Linked DNA regions of Homo sapiens: region 1 is linked to region 2. The links are contacts of gene promoters, found by promoter capture Hi-C in human tissues and cell types (Jung and others, 2019). All regions are on one chromosome and are shown on one strand. The core of a region is centred on a gene start or on the middle of the fragment in contact, and the rest is flanking DNA. Distances in the headings are between cores, read along the strand shown. Region 1 overlaps SPTAN1 (spectrin alpha, non-erythrocytic 1). Region 2 holds the start of GLE1 (GLE1 RNA export mediator).

The links. The method cuts DNA at HindIII sites, captures the fragments that hold promoters and counts their contacts. A contact is called where the count stands out against the background at its distance.
Region 1: a fragment that was not itself captured here is called in contact with the fragment with the promoter of GLE1 in region 2 in 2 of the 25 tissues and cell types used here (dorsolateral prefrontal cortex and liver).

Annotation. Positions count from the first base shown.
Region 1 is chr9:128,607,085-128,612,170 of GRCh38, forward strand. SPTAN1 (spectrin alpha, non-erythrocytic 1) reads left to right here. Exons shown (of 57, transcript NM_001130438.3): 32 at 520-619; 33 at 768-965; 34 at 1,046-1,192; 35 at 1,790-1,893; 36 at 2,038-2,200; 37 at 2,567-2,581; 38 at 4,630-4,761; 39 at 5,025-5,086. Among named protein-coding and RNA genes, the nearest start is that of DYNC2I2, 47 kb to the right of the region's middle. The HindIII fragment of the contact is 5,536 bases long and covers 1-4,350 here.
Region 2 is chr9:128,501,670-128,506,452 of GRCh38, forward strand. It overlaps GLE1 (GLE1 RNA export mediator), which reads left to right and starts at 3,050. Exons shown (of 16, transcript NM_001003722.2): 1 at 3,050-3,235. The coding sequence starts at 3,137. RefSeq lists a silencer at 2,861-3,070 and an enhancer at 3,291-3,450. The HindIII fragment of the contact is 8,169 bases long and covers 768-4,783 here.

The DNA of each region.
Region 1 (5,086 bases), core at 333-2,832, 100 kb after region 2:
TGGTTGTACAGCTGTGAGAAACTGGATCAAATGTATGCCCAGGCCTAGGGCTTCAAGGGTTAATCCTAAAGAAAGGCTTTTTCTTTTTTTTCTTTTTTTTTTAGAGACAGGGTTGCACCACATTGCCCAAACTGATCTTGAATTCCTGAGCTCAAGCGATCCTCCTGCCTCAGCCTCCCAAAGTGCTGGGATTACAGGCATGAGCCACCACGCCTGGCCAACAAAAGCTTTTTCATTTGAAGCTATCAAAGACTTAATTGTAGCTAGAACTTGTTATTCTGGAGGGTGAAAAGATCTTAATTATAAGCCTACTGACTTTTCCTCTGAGAAATTCGGACTTTTAAAAAAATAACAAGAAGTTTTTTAACACTTTGCCCAAAGACCTAGCCTCATTCAGTAGATCAGATTAACCCAAGATAACTTTCTGAGGCAAGAATTATGTCATTCTCTGTTTTCCTGGGCAGAAGATCTCCTTACCAGGTAATATAATAGCTATTTTTCTGGGGTGCTGGTTTCCAGGGACCTCATGTCTTGGATCAATGGAATACGGGGGTTGGTGTCCTCAGATGAGCTAGCCAAGGATGTCACCGGAGCTGAGGCATTGCTGGAGCGACACCAGGTGGGTGGACCTGCCTGCTGAGTAGCAAAGACGTGGCTGCTCTGCAGGGCCCTAGAGGCCTCATTCCCACCCTTTGTGGTGAGTCGGTGGTTGACGTCAGAGTGGGCATCTGCTGCCAGTTACCTAATCCCTTCCCTCCTTTTGGCAGGAACACCGGACAGAAATCGATGCCAGGGCTGGCACTTTCCAGGCATTTGAGCAGTTTGGACAGCAGCTGTTGGCTCACGGACACTATGCCAGCCCTGAGATCAAGCAGAAACTTGATATTCTTGACCAGGAGCGTGCAGACCTGGAGAAGGCCTGGGTTCAGCGCAGGATGATGCTGGATCAGTGCCTTGAACTGCAGGTGTGTGTGCTCCTGGTTTCTGACCAAGTGTTTCCTTGCTGAAGGGCCTCATTTTCTCACCTGCCTCTTGCCCTCTTTAGCTGTTCCATCGGGACTGTGAGCAAGCTGAGAACTGGATGGCTGCCCGGGAGGCCTTCTTGAATACCGAAGACAAAGGAGACTCACTGGACAGCGTAGAGGCTCTGATCAAAAAACATGAAGACTTTGACAAAGCGATTAACGTCCAGGTGAGGCCTCTGGACCATGGAGTTGGAGTCTGGATTTTTCCTGATTGACATCTGTTTCTTGGCTTATATAGTCACTGTTATATCTCCAAGGAATACCTGCGTTGTCTAAGAAAAATATGTACATAAATAATCTTTAAAACTTTATAGATTCTGGTATTTCTGAGATTTTAATAATGGGGGTGCCACAGGAAAAAAAAATATTATCAAAGGGATGGAAAACAAATGTGTGGGTAGGTAAGGGAATAATGAACAAACAACAAGGAAGATGTAAAACTGTTTGATTTATACGTCACTTTGCTGTAAATCTGACAGCATTTTCCTATTATCAGGCTTAATTTTGTTCTGTTCTGATATTCTAACACCTGCCCCACCTGAGTGACCTGGAGACTTCTTGAGTTAAACTCTACTCTAGTAATGAATGAAATCAAGCTTTCTTTTGGCATTTTACACTCTTGCTTCTAAAGTGTCAGTGTATTCTGATCCTGCCACCAGCTAGTTCTCAGTCACCCAAAATAACTATCCTTTTCTCAAGACTGGCAGTCCAGGCAGGGCCCAGCCACAGGCCCACCTTGATCTCATGCCTTTGTTTTCTGACAGGAAGAGAAGATTGCTGCTCTGCAGGCCTTTGCCGACCAGCTCATCGCTGCCGGCCATTATGCCAAGGGAGACATTTCTAGCCGGCGCAATGAGGTCTTGGACAGGTGGGTGTCCTGTGGCACTGACATAGTCACCAGCCCTGAGAGGATGCATCCCCTCATACGAAGGCCCAGGCCTGTTCTGTCTCCCCACTTCCTTCTCCACGGTAAGATATGCTCATGTTGGATCTCATGGTTTCACTCTTTCAGGTGGCGACGTCTGAAAGCCCAGATGATTGAGAAAAGGTCAAAGCTAGGAGAATCTCAAACCCTCCAACAGTTCAGCCGGGATGTGGATGAGATTGAGGCTTGGATCAGTGAAAAATTGCAAACAGCGAGTGATGAGTCGTACAAGGATCCCACCAACATCCAGGTAAGCTGAAGTGACTGGGTGTTGGTCTTGATGTAGCCTTATGTTATTGAGTAGATTTTGTTAAATAAAGCATTTATAAAACAATCTCCTTGCACCCATGGGAAGTCAGTGAGAAATATTTCAGTAAGCCCAGCCAGTGGGAAAGCCCTAGTCAAGTTTCAGAGCCATTTAAAAGTTGCCTTCCTCATTTGTCTCCATTAAAACTATTTCTGCTGTAATAAAAGTCTATAGAATCCCCCTTCTATTACTGTTCCCAAATGCTGAGCTTCCTGGGGGAAGTATGACAAAATGAGTTTCTATTTAATAGCTGATATGTGTGTCCACATCAGTGTACTGAACTCTTGTTCTTTTAATCTGTTTTTGTAGCTTTCCAAGCTGCTGGTAAGTTTTTAATTTTTTTAAGAGTTGTAGTTAAATGAGCTCCAGTATTTGTGTTACTCTGCGTAGATTATTGTTATTATTGTGGTCACACGGTTTGCTGGTGTCTCTTCATCCATCCTTTTCATTTCTAATCATCCATTACACTCCATTCAAGTGTCCCTGTGGGATGTGGCTTTTTCTGTTGTAATTAGCCTGCAACGCCTTACTCCCCCTTCTCTCCCCCAGTTTATCACTTAGGCAAATTCTGTACAGTGTTTGATTTGCGGGGCAGTAATTGACCATTTTCTTTCAAGGAGTGCTTCCTTTTGAAGATGGAACATCAGCTTCAGCTTTTTCTGTGTAGACATTGGCTCAGACTTGCTATGAGCTCATGGTGTTCGGTGGCCTGGGTTGGGGAGGCCAGTCTGGTGTGAGGGTTTTAATGCATACCCACTCTGGCATCCAGAGGTGCCAGTCAGGAGAGGAACAGCTAGAGAACTGTAGAGAGACGGATGGTCTATTAATACCTCCAAATCTTCAAGGAACACAAATGAGAAGTTAAGATAAAAGCAGACATCACTCAACAGGTAGTGAAAGGAGACTTCAGTCAACATGTAGCTCAAAGTTACTTAAGCGGGTGGAAGAAATGAAGATAGAGAAGAGAGTAAATGGGATTTGAACCAAAGGGTGATCAGAACAAGGAACAGAAGAAGAGGGTAATGGGACTTTTGTCAGGATATCTGAGTGTTTGAGACCCTTTTCCTTCTTGGCTTTGGGATCAGGCGGTGGGAGAACGTAACAAGGACATTTCATGTTAGTGCTGAATTGAGCCAGATGGCTCCATCCTTTGACAGTTGCTGCCTCTGAAATGAAACATTTGATGCAGAATTCCCCAACACTACTGCCTTTTAGTTGTTTTTTTTTTGCCCCCCAAATAACACTCCCCTGAGACCCTGCATTTCTTACCCAGCCAATTGTTTTTCCCAGAATTGTGGCATAGCTGCTATGTCCTTGCAATTGTCTCTTGTAGCATTTCAGTACCTTCTGTTTCTTTATGGATTCATAAAAACCATATCAGGCGCCCAGGATCAGGAGCCCATCCTTCTCCTAGCCCTTTCATTTCCCAGTAAAATAAATTCCTTCCTGCAGTCAAGCCTGGGTTCTGACAGTATCCCAGTGTTTTGATTAATGACAGCTACCTAAAGATAAATCAACAAAGCCAATGTCTGTAGTAGCTGTAGATTTCTCCTCTGTCAACAGAGGGAAAAGACTGACCATCAAATATTATTTTGCTGGTTATTACAATTTATGTTATGAATTTTGCTTAATGGTGATTTCTGCTTTAGATAATGAAATGTCCATATGTATCTCATTCATTACAGCCTGTCTCCAATAAGGAGAAAGCCATGGATGGAAATTGATGTACAAGCAGATTCAAAACTGAAGTTGGCCATTGCCATCTTCTGGAAAGTGTTAGGAAGTGTGTAATTCTAGGGCTTCACTCCCAAATAGCTAGCATAGCTACTGCAAGAATTGATTTTTTGGCCAGGCTTGGTGGCTCATGCTTGTAATCCCAGAACTTTGGGAGGCCAATGTGGCTCGATTGCTTGAGCTCGGGAGTTCAAGACCAGCCTGGGCAACATGGCGAAACCCCATCTCTACAAAAAATAGAAAAATTAGCTGGGTGTGATGTCATGCACCCATGGTCCCAGCTATTCGGGAGGCTGAGGTAGGAGGATTGCTTGAGCCGAAGAGGTTGAGGCTGCAGTGAGCTGAGATTACGCCACTGCACTCCAGCCTGGGCAACTGAGCAAGACCCTGTCTCAAAAAAAAGGACTTCCAGTTCATCTACTCCTGAGCTAGTACATTTCCTTCCTCCTTTGCTAACTCCCCAAGAGATGAACCCTAAAATATTTCATACAAACTCCAATTGCCTTCTGTTAAAAACGTTGGCATTTACCCCAGTTCTTTATGTTTGCTGCCACTCCCTGCCTCTGAGAACCCCTTCCCCCTGAAAAGACATAACCTAGCAGGAACTGGTTTGGAAAAAATTTTTTTGGTATTTTTAGAGCAAGCACCAGAAGCACCAGGCTTTTGAAGCAGAGCTGCATGCCAACGCTGACCGGATCCGTGGGGTTATCGACATGGGCAACTCCCTCATTGAACGTGGAGCCTGTGCCGGCAGTGAGGATGCTGTCAAGGTATGGCCCACCAGCTCCCGGTGCCCAGGGAGGAAGATGACCACCGTCACTGTCAACCTGATATAATAACTTGGACATACAGTCTTAAGACACTAAATGGATTATAGAAGACTTTAGGCTGAATTACAGATGGGGAATGCTAGTGAGAATGGCTCCTATGAGTGTTTTCCATTCTCTTCTCTTAGAAGTTCTCAAATTGAGCTTTAGGAGAGGGACGATTCTTCATAGATTTCATCTCTTTTTGGCTCCCTTCTGTTCCCCAGGCCCGCCTGGCTGCCTTAGCTGACCAGTGGCAGTTCTTGGTGCAAAAGTCAGCGGAAAAGAG
Region 2 (4,783 bases), core at 1,800-4,299:
GATTACAGGGGTGAGCCACCACACCCAGCCTTCTCTGTGTTCTTGAATCCACCTAGGCATCTGGATTTCAAAGACCAGAAATCTCTTTTCTCTACCAAATTTTGAGGATATTTATAGTTTCCAGCTTTCAGTTTTTCCAATGAAGGTAATTCCAGCTACCACTGCCAAAAAAACTAAGCCCATTTTCATACTCTTAACGTAAATAGACAAGAACTTATAATAGGTGAAAGACCTTCCCGAGAAAGGACAATTGACAAACTTCCACCAGCATGTATATATATCTGTATAACTCATTATTATTTTTGCCAAACTAGAGAAAACCTCAGTGCAGGGCACTGCTATGTAACTCTGGTGTGAGCAACACCTCTCTTGGAGTCCCTTGCTGGGACTCTGGGGACTCTTCCAACAATTTTTCTTTTTAAAATATTTTTATTACAAGAAGTCCAGGGAATTTTTAAAAACTCAGAAAATGAAAATTGTTCACATTGCTCATACTCCAGAGAGAATTCTTCCTACCTCAAACTGAGATCTCACGAGGTGGTGGACAATGGAAGGGTCAGAAAGTCTGGGGTCCCAGTTAGAGCCGTCTCTGGACAATTGTGACTCATTCTATTTTTATTGAGATATAATTCACATAAAATTCACTCTTTTTATTTTTTTGAAACAGGGTCTCCCTCTGTCATCCAAGCTGGTGAGCAGTGGCACAATGATGGCTCACTACAGCCTCAGCCTCCTGGGTTTAAGCGATCTCCTGCCTCAGCCTTCTGAGTAGCTGGGAGCACAGGTGCATGCCACCATGCCTGGCTAATTTTTGGATTTTTTTTTTTTTTGGTAGAGGCAGGTCTCATCATGTTGTCCAGGTTGGTCTCAAACTCCTGGGCTCAAGCCATCCTCCTACCTTGGCCTCCCAAACTGCTGGGATTACAAGCATGAGCCACCATACCTGGCCTAGAATTCACCCTTTTAAAGTGTAAATATAGGCCAGGCGTGGTCACTCACACCTGTAATCCCAGCACTTTGGGAGGCCGAGGCGGGTGGATCACCTGAGGTCAGGAGTTCGAGACCAGCCTGGCCAACATGGTGAAACCCTGTCTCTACTAAAAATACAAAAATTAGCCGGGAGTGGTGGTGGACGCCTGTAGTCCCAGCTACTTGGTAGGTTGAGGCAGGAGAATCACTTGAACCCAGGAGGTGGAGGTTGCAGTGATCCAAGATCACGCCACTGCACTCCTGCCTGGGCAACACGGCGAGATTCTGTCTCGAAAAGATAAAGTGTATATATAATTCAATGGTTTGTAGTATATTCACCAAGTTGTGTAGCCATCACCATTATCTAATTCTAGACCTAGTTTTTTCTTTTTTCGAAATGGAGTCTCTCTCTGTCACCCAGGCTACAGTGCAGTGGCACCATCTCGGCTCACTGCAGCCTCTGCCTCCAGAGTTCAAGGGATCCTCCTGCATCAGCCTGTGGGGACTATAGGTGCATGGCACTTTGCCTGGCTAATTTTTGTATTTTTTGTAGAGACAGGGTTTTGCCATGTTGCCCAGGCTTGTCTGAAACTCCTGACCTCAGGTGATCTGCCCACCTTGGCCTTCCAAAGTGCTGGGATTACGGCACCCAGCCAACCAATTTCATCACTCCCAAAAAAGAAACGCCATACCCATTAGCAGTCACTCCCCATTCCCCTCCCCCAGCCCCTGGCAACTAGTCATAAAGTTTCTCTGGCTCTATAGATTTGTCTCTTCTGGATATTTCACATAAGTGGAATTGTCCAACATGTGGCCATTCATGACTGGCTTCTCTCAGCATAATGCTTTCAAGATTGATGTTGCAGCGTATCATCAGCACTTTATTTTTATGGCCCCATAACATTCCATTATATAGATGTGGTGTTTCCTCCTGCCAAACAGGGCTGGTTGGGATTCCAAAGAAGCACTATGGCCGGGCGCAGTGGCTCATGCCTGTAATCCCAACGCTTTGGGAGGTCGAGGTGGGTGGATCAACTGAGGTCAGGAGTTCGAGACCAGCCTGACCAACATGGTGAAACCCCGCCTCTGCTAAAAATACAAAATAGCTGGGCGTGGTGGCTGGCGCGTGTAGTCCCAGCTACACGGGGAGCTGAGGCAGGAGAATCGCTTGAACCCGGGAGGCGGAGGTTGCAGTGAGCCGAGATCGAGCCACTGTACTCCAGCCTGGGGGACAGAGCAAGACTCTGTCTCAAAAAAGCAGCATTAAACCCAAAACATTTATTAGGGAAGCTTACAGAGTGGGCTGCAGCAATTCTCGCGACAGACAGAGAGAAGCGGTGTTTCACCTAGGTACATCCCCAGCGAGGGGTCAGGGTATGAAGTTTATATGAGGGTTTATGGAATTTGGCTAAAAGCAGGGGTCAGTTTCAGCGTTTTGGGCAATAACCTAGATATCCTTAGTGCCTAGGGATATGCAAGGCCCGTGTTTGGTTGCAAGTCTGCAGGAAAAAACTTGCAGCTGGCTGGGTCACAGGGCGGTCAAGGCACTCTGATACTTGGTCAGTGCACAGAAAGCGGGGGAACTCGGGAACCGCGCACATAGTACTATATTTTATTTATCCATTCACCAATGGATGGACGTTTGGGTTGCTTTCACTTTTTGGCTATTATGAATAACACTGCTGTGAACATTCATGGACAAGTTTTTATATATACATAGGTTTCATTTCTTTGGCGTATTTTATATATATATATATATTTACCTAGGAGAATTGCTGGGTCAAATGGTAATTGTTTAACCTTTTGAGGAACTGCCAGACTGTCTTCCACAGCAGGTGCTTCATTTTACAGTCCCATGAGCAGTGTATGAGGGTTCCAGTTTCTGCACAGTCTCAAGGCACAGACAAATTTTCAGCAGCCCCGGGGATTGGGAGCGGTGGTTACCTCTGCGGAACGTGCCCCGACAGCCAAGCCCTGCGCGCAGGCGCACTGGTGGGAGGGCGGGAACGCGGGAGCGTCGCCGGAGGTGGGGCGTGCAGGCGTTAGGGGCGGGGCTGTGCTGCGCGCGCGTCCCGGAAGCAGAAGCCTGTGTGGCCTTCCCGGCGGCTGATTCGAGGGCTTGTTTGGTCAGAAGGGGGGCGTCAGAGAAGCTGCCCCTTAGCCAACCATGCCGTCTGAGGGTCGCTGCTGGGAGACCTTGAAGGCCCTACGCAGTTCCGACAAAGGTCGCCTTTGCTACTACCGCGACTGGCTGCTGCGGCGCGAGGTGAGCGGTGGCCCCGGAGGACGTAGGCCTTTCCGGCCCCTCGCGACCGAAACCTTCTCCCTAGCCGTTGGCACGTTCTGCTCCCGGGAACCCGTGCAGTCTAACAACCTGCATTTATTTCTTGACTTCTGTGTGTACATCCCTCTGTCCTGGGGTTTCTGTCCTCTTCAGCCTATTTTAGCGTTTCGGGGAGCTCCCCTGACTTCACAGGTGCCCCGCGCTCTGAAGGCTTCATTGCTACCCTCCGCCAGTTGGGCGCCTTCTCCGTTCTGCTGTTGTCAAAGCAATCTCGGCCCCAGGTTCAGTTAACTTACTGTATGTCTCATGTGCTGGGAGCTCTAGAGTTTGCGACGAACGATTGACACGACCTAATCCATTGCTACTAGTGAAATGACCAAATTTTTAGATTGATTTGGCAGACCTGGAAAGTGAATGGGGGCGTGGTCACCGTACCTAGCATTTGCAAAGCTCTGCGCGAGAAGTGGAGGGATGTGGAGAGTTAAGGCCGAGCTCCCATTCCCGAGTCGCTGCTAGTTAGCTACAGATAAGGCGTTGTCCTGCATCCTCAGACTTCTTGGGAAACAATCCTAAAGTATTTCCCTGTCTTTTATGTTGTTGACAGTTTTGAAAAATACAGACCTTACATTCTGTAGGTTGACTGCCAGCATATGTGCTTTCAAACCACCAGACCAAGGTTAAGCATTCTTGGCAGGAATACCACAGAAATGATGCCATGGCTTTCTCAGTAAGTCACATGAGGAGGCACACAGATGTCAACCCATCCCAACACTGGTGATGCTAATCTTGATCACCTGGTTACGTTATTATCTGCCTGGTCTCTCCGTTTAAAATTCGTCATTTTTCCCTTAGTAATTGTTGGGAAGTAATAATACCAGTATCCTTTTTTCTGGGCAAACCTTAATCCTCCATGGCTTTAGCATTCATTGATGTTTTCCACATGAATCGATACCTCTATGACGTTGCCAGATCCTGTTTCTTTATATCCGCTATTCCTTCTGCATTTGTTAGTTGGCATTCTACTGTAAGGAGGTGCTTTCTATTTTATTCAGTGAGTTGTAATCCATTACTTTTATTATTTATTTATTTTATTTTAAATGTCCCAGATTTTGTAAGCTTGTATCAAAATAATCACATGCAAGGCTAGGCGTGGTGGCTCAGGCCCGTAATCCCAGCACGTTGGGAGGCCGAGGGGGACGGATCACTTGAGGTCAAGAGTTCGCGACCAGCCTGGCCAACATGGTGAAACCGCATCTCTACTAAAAATACAAAATTAGCCGAGCATGGTGGTGCATGCCTGTAATCCCAGCTACTCGGGAGACTGAGGCATGAGAATTGCTTGAACCCTGGAAGCAGAGGTTGCAGTGAGCCGAGATTGTGCTGCTGCACTCAAGCCTGGGTGACAGAGTGAGACTGTGTCTCAAAAAAAAAAATGTAGCCTTGTAAATATGTACAACAATTATGTATTCATAAGAATTAAAAAGAAAAATGTCCCAGATTTGGCTACTGGGCACCTCATTAAGTTGGTTC